2 separate regions of the Homo sapiens genome follow, and region 1 is linked to region 2. Evidence: promoter capture Hi-C in 16 types of primary human blood cells and fetal thymus (Javierre and others, 2016). All regions are on one chromosome and are shown on one strand. The core of a region is centred on a gene start or on the middle of the fragment in contact, and the rest is flanking DNA. Distances in the headings are between cores, read along the strand shown.

The links. Contacts are between HindIII fragments. The CHiCAGO score rates a contact against its expected background, and 5 or more counts as called.
Region 1: a fragment that was not itself captured here is called in contact with the fragment with the promoter of NIPSNAP1 in region 2 in 6 of 17 cell types (naive CD4 T cells, M0 macrophages, total CD4 T cells and 3 more); the score reaches 7.4 in naive CD4 T cells.

The regions. Positions count from the first base shown.
Region 1 is chr22:30,099,399-30,102,704 of GRCh38, forward strand. The region is part of intron 3 of HORMAD2 (HORMA domain containing 2); the gene reads left to right. Among named protein-coding and RNA genes, the nearest start is that of HORMAD2, 21 kb to the left of the region's middle. The HindIII fragment of the contact is 7,543 bases long and covers 1-3,306 here.
Region 2 is chr22:29,579,363-29,582,511 of GRCh38, forward strand. NIPSNAP1 (nipsnap homolog 1) reads right to left here and starts at 1,751. Exons shown (of 10, transcript NM_003634.4): 1 at 1,623-1,751. The coding sequence starts at 1,720. RefSeq lists an enhancer at 912-1,524 and a silencer at 1,508-1,557. The HindIII fragment of the contact is 18,053 bases long and covers 1-3,149 here.

The DNA.
Region 1 (3,306 bases), core at 634-3,133, 520 kb after region 2:
CTGGGGATAAAAAAGCCAAACTCACTTGTTGATTAACATGGATATTAAAATAATTATTATTCTAATCAGTTCTGGCTTTTTTCTCAATTGCCAGGTCTTCTACTTTCATTCCTTTTGTTTCAGTGCTCTTAAACTTATCATCTTATTGTCTTATACTACAAGCTGTTTCTGGCCCCTTTTCTTCTCTTATTATAAAAACAAGTACCAGCCAGGCATGGTGGCTCATGCCTGTAATCCCAACACTTTGGGAGGCCGAGGCGAGTGGATCACCTGAGTTCAGGAGTTCGAGACCAGCCTGGCCAACATGGTGAAACACTGTCTCTACTAAAAATACAAAAATTAGTTGGGCATTATGCTGGGCACCTGTAATCCCAGCTACTTGGGAGGCTGAGGCAGGAGAATCACTTGAACCCAGGAGACAGATATTGCAATGAGCCAAGATCGTGCCATTGCACTCCAGCCTGGGTGACAAGAGCAAAACTTCATCTCAGAAAAACAAACAAAAACAAAAACAAAAACAAAAAACCCAAGTACCTAGGACTCAACAAGTTTTCAAAAATCTTATTTGTTTAAAAAGCTGGATTGTGTATCATGAAAATGGCCATACTGCCCAAAGTAAATTATAGATTCAATGTTATTCCCATCAAGCTACCATTGACTTTCTTCACAGAATTAGAAGAAACTACTTTAAATTTCATATGGAACCAAAAAGGAGCCCATATAGCCAAGAAAATCCTAAGCAAAAAGAACAAAGCTGGAGGCATCATGCTACCTGACTTCAAATTATGCTACAAGGCTACAGTAACCAAAACAGCATGGTACTGCTACCAAAATAGATATATAGACCAATGGAACAGAACAGAGGCCTCAGAAATAACACCACACATCTACAACCATCTGATCTTTGACAAACCTGACAAAAACAAGCATTGAGTAAAGGATTCCCTATTTAATAAATGGTGCTGGGAAAACTGGCTAGCCATACGCAGAAAACCGAAACTGGACCCCTTCCTTACACCTTATACAAAAATTAATTCAAGATGGATTAAAGACTTAAATGTAATACCTAAAACCATAAAAACCCTAGAAGAAAACCTAGGCAGTACCATTCAGGCCATAGGCATGGGCAAAGACTTCATGACTAAAGCACCAAAAGCAATTGCAACAAAAGCCAAAATAGACAAATGGGAACTAATTAAACCAAAGAGCTTCTGCACAGCAAAAGAAATTGTCATCAGAGTGAACAGGAAACATACAGAATGGGAGAAAATGTTTCCAATCTATCCATCTGACAAAGGTTTAATATCCAGAATCTACAAGGAACTTAAAACAAATTTACAAGAATAAAACAACCCCATCAAAAAGTGGGCAAAGGATATGAACAGACACTTCTCAAAAGAAGACATTTATGCAGCCAACAAACATATGAAAAAAAGCTCATCATCACTGGTCGTTAGAGAGATGCAAATCAAAACCACAATGAGATACCATCTCATGCCAGTTAGAACGGAAATCACTAAAAAGTCAGGAAACAACAGATGCTGGAGAGAATGTAGAGAAATAGGAATGCTTTTACACTGTTGGTGGGAGTGTAAATTAGTTCAACCATTGTGGAAGACAGTGTGGCAATTCCTCAAGGATATAGAACCAGAAATACCATTTGACCAAGTAATCCCATTACTGGGTATATATCCAAAGTATTATAAATCATTCTATTATAAAGACACATGCACACATATGTTTATTGCAGCACTATTTACAATAGCAAAGACTTGGAACCAACCCAAATGCCCATCAATGATAGACTGGATAAAGAAAATGTGGCACATATACATCATAGAAAACTATGTACCCATGAAAAATAATTAGTTCATGTCCTTTGTAGGAACATGGATGATGCTGGAAACCATCATTCTCAGCAAACTAACACAGGAACAGAAAACCTGTGTTATGTATGTTCTCACTCATAAGTGGGAGTTGAACAATGAGAACACATGGAAACAGGAAGGGGAACATCACACACTGGAGCCTGTAGGGGGGTGGGGGGCAAGGGAAGGAATAGCATTAGGACAAATACCTAATGCATGTGGGGCTTAAAACCTAGATGATGGGTTGATGGTTGCAACAAACCACCATGGCACATGAACAAACCTGCACTTTCTGCACATGTATTCCAGAACTTAAAGTATTAAAAAAAAAAAAAGCTGGATTGTGAATCTTGTTGACTTGTCACTAAAATAGGAACTGTCATTTGGAAAATAAACATAGAGAGCTACAAGTTGCCTTGTAAGATGTTATTTTTCAAAATCTAATTTTAAATTTCTTACATCTGTATTTAATGATATACCTTGGCCTCATTTCAGTCTAATTCTCTTGGTTGGGCATGGTGGCTCAGGCTTGTAATCCAAAGTGTAACCATAACACTTTGAAAGGCAAGGTGGGCAGACTGCTTGAGCCTAGGAATCCAAGACCAGCCTGAACAACACGGTGAAACCCTGTCTCTATAAAAAATACAAAAAATTAGCTGGCCATGGTGGTGAGTGCCTGTAATTCCAGCTACTCTGGAGGCTGAGGTGGGAGGATCATCTGAGCCTGGGGGGTTAAGGCTACAGTGAGCTGTGATTGCACCACTGAATTCCAGCTTGAGTGATACAGTGAGACTCTGTCTCAAAAAAAAAAATTATCTTAAGTAATGTAAGAGCATCAATAAAATGCATGTGTGCTATAAGCACATAAACATGATATTTGCAATCATGACAACCTCATTTGTATTATGACATCTTTTGGTCTATGAGATACAAACTTGTAATAGTGAATGTGTTTATATCTAACATATATTTGTAATTTTCCCTCTTGTCTAGAACATAGAATTGAGAAAGACATATTTTTGATAATAAGCACATATTGTGTGCCAGTCACTACCCTAGGCAACGGCAATGATACCATTCCCTATAGCTTTATTTTTTGTGACAGTTATTGTGGAAGTTTTATGTCTCCCTTTCAATGTTTGTTCTTAAAGTAATATACATCATAAAAATGCTTAATACTCCTGTGTCACTCTCTTGTAATTTCTGAATGTTATATCAACATGGGATAATTTTCATATCCCTCAATAGAGATACAGGTAACATCAATTTTAGTATAGGAAAACAATACGAAAAGGTGAAGTTGCTTATGCAAAATCACACATAAATCAGTGATTGATCTTGGACTACTTTAAACCAAAACTCTATTTATTTATTTTGAGAGGGAGTCTCATTTCATTGTCCGGGCTGGAGTGTGGCGGCATGATCATTACAGGATTAC
Region 2 (3,149 bases), core at 501-3,000:
CTCGGCTCACTGCAAGCTCCGCCTCCTGGGTTCACGCCATTCTCCTGCCTCAGCCTCCTGAGTAGCTGGGACTACAGGCGCCTGCCACCGCGCCCAGCTAATTTTTTGTATTTTTAGTAGAGATGGGGTTTCACCGTGTTAGCCAGGATGGTCTCGATCTCCTGACCTCGTGATCCACCGCCTCGGCCTCCCAAAGTGCTGGGATTACAGGCGTGAGCCACCGCGCCCGGCCATTTTTGTACTTTTTATAGAGACAGGATCTCGCCGTGTTGCCAAGCTGGTCTTGAACTGCTGACCTCAAGTGATCTGCCTGCCTCGGCCTCCCAAAGTGCTGGGATTACAGGCATGAGCCACCATACCCGACCAACCACAGCATCTTTAATCCTCAACAACCCTATGAGATACATCCTGATTACTCCCATTTTACAGATGAGGAACCCGAGGCTTAAAGAGTCCTGAGGTCACCCCACCTACAAAGTCTGAGTTAGATCTGTTAGTGCCAGGCAAACTCTAGGCTTTTCCCACGGTGTCAGCTTTATCCCTAATTATTGGGCAGTCTAGGTGGGGCGCTTATGCCACTCCTCTTTCCCAGCTGTCCAAAAGCCCCACTGCTCTGTGCTGTAACATCTCATGGCAGGCACTATCAGAACTTTGCAGCTTCATTCCTGGGCTGCAGGGCAGGAGGGATGGTTGCTTCCTTTTCACAGGTTGGGGGAGGGGGAACAGGTGGCCTCACTTCTTTGGTAAATATTCCTTGACCATACACAGTCCTGAGCCCTCTGAGGGTGGGAGGCTGGGGAAACAGAGAAAAATGAGATCATGGTCTAGTGAGAGAGACAGACAAGCACCAAGTCATAACTGTGCAGGGTCATATATGCAGAGATGGGGGAAGTACAGGGCTGTGGGGACCAAGGAGTGAGGGGCTGCCCAGGGCCAGTCAGGGAGGCCAAGCCCTAGCTCAGCCCAGAGCAGGGCCCAAACAAAAGCCCAGGCTGAGAGCACATGGCCCAGCCAGACTCCCACTCCCAGGAGGCCACCAGTTGGGTGCAAAGTGCATGGCGCATTGGCAGGCCTGGGTCCCAGACCTGGTGCTGCCACGGCACAGCAGGGAGGGTGACCTTGGACAACTCCCATTCCCTCTCAGGTCCGTTTCCCCACCTGTACAGTTCGAGGTGGAGGAACAAAGGGTCTGTGCAGCCATGGCCCCTGGGGATCCCCCACTGCTCCCCTGCCATCATCTCTTTCCCACAGAACTTCCCGACGGAGGAGCTGACTACCAGAAGCCCCCAGTGGGTGTTAAATCACAAGCTACGCCTGGGAATGGGCCACTCCTCCTGTCTTCTGCCCTCTCCCACTCTCCAGGGCCCAGTACCTGCCCTTCTCACCATCTTTCATCAGGTCCCCATCACAGCCCGGTCCCAACCAGGACAAAGACCCTACCCATCCCTTTCTCACCTCCCCCATTCTTTGCCCAGACCCCTCCCTAGGCCTTGATCCTGCCCCGCCTCTAACCCCCAGATTCCAAGCGAGGAGTCTCAGCCCCTCCCCCACGACCCAGTCCCTGGCCCCCGCGCCTGCACCCCACCCCGCGCGCGTCTATCCCTGCCTGGCCGGGCTCTCACCGCGCCGCAGCTGCAGACGCAACGTCCCCAGCGCGAGGCCCCGGGCCCCCCAGCAGCCGCCGCGCCGTCACAGAGATGCTGCACAGCCGCGGAGCCATGTTGGAGCCGCAAAGGTTGCAGGAAGGCCCCGCCCCCAAGCCCTGGTGGCGGAGGCGGGGCGCGAATAAACTCCACCCCTCCGGCTCGCCCGCCCCCTCACTCACCCGGTCAGGTGGGCGTTTCCTGTGGGCGTCTCCAACTCCGCAGGTGCTGGACGGAAGTCAGGGTTCTAATCCTCTGCGCGCTCTGCGACCTTGGCAAGCCCTTTGCCCACTCTGGGCCTCAGGATCCACCTCGGTAAAATGGGAGCGTGGAACAATAATACCAAGGGTTCTTTTTTTTTTTTTTTTTTTTTTTGAGACGGAGTCTCGCTCTGTCGCCCAGGCTGGAGCGCAGTGGCGCGATCTCGGCCCACTGCAAGCTCCGCCTCCTGGGTTCACGCCATTCTCCTGCCTCAGCCTCCCGAGTAGCTGGAACTACAGGCGTCTGCCACCACGCCCAGCTAATTTTTTGTATTTTTAGTAGAAACGGGGTTTCACCGTGTTAGCCAGGATGGTCTCGATCTCCTGACCTCGTGATCTGCCTGCCTCGTGCTCCCAAAGTGCTGGGATTACAGGCGTGAGCCACCATGCCCAGCCTACCAAGGGTTCTTAACAAGGCTGTCCGGGATGTGCAGCAGAGGGTCAGTGTAACCACCCCATGGGTTCATTTTGCCCGTTTCCCAGACAGCGGATTTATCAAGACAGAGGAATTGCAATAAGAGTTTAATTCATGCAGAGCCGGCTGAATGGGAGACCGGAGTTTTATTATTACTCAAATCAGTCTCCCTGAAAATTCGGAGACTGGGTTTTATTAAGGATAATTTGGTGGGTAGGGGCCAGAGAGTGGAGAGTGCTGATTGGTCAGGTCGGAGATGCAATCATAGGGAGTGGAAGCCGTCCTCTTGTGCTGAGTGGATCTCTGGGTGGGGGCCACAAAACCGGATGATCCGGTTTCTTAATCTGTGTATCGCCAGCGGATCCATTGAGTGCAGGATCGGAAAAATATCTTGAGCACCAATCTTAGGTTTTACAGTAGTGATGTTATCCCTAGGAGCAACTGGGGAGGTTTAGAATCTGTGGCCACTACCTGCATGACTCCTAAACCGTAATTTCTAATCTCGTGGCTAATTTGTTAGTCTTACAAAAGCAGTCTGGTCCCCAGGCAAGAAAGGGGTTTATTTTGGGAGAGGGCTGTTATCTTTGTTTCAAAGTTGAACTATAAATTTGCTGCCGGGCATGGTGGCTCATGCCTGTAATCCCAGCATTTTGGGAGGCAAAGGTGGATCAGAAGTTTAGGTCAAGAGTTCAAGACCAGCCTGGCCAACAGGGTGAAACCCCGTCTCTACTAAAAATACAAAAAAATTAGCCAGGCATGGTGGCGGGCACCTGTAATCCCAGTTACTCGGGAGGCTGAGGCAGGAGAATCTCTTGAACCCTGGAGGCAGAG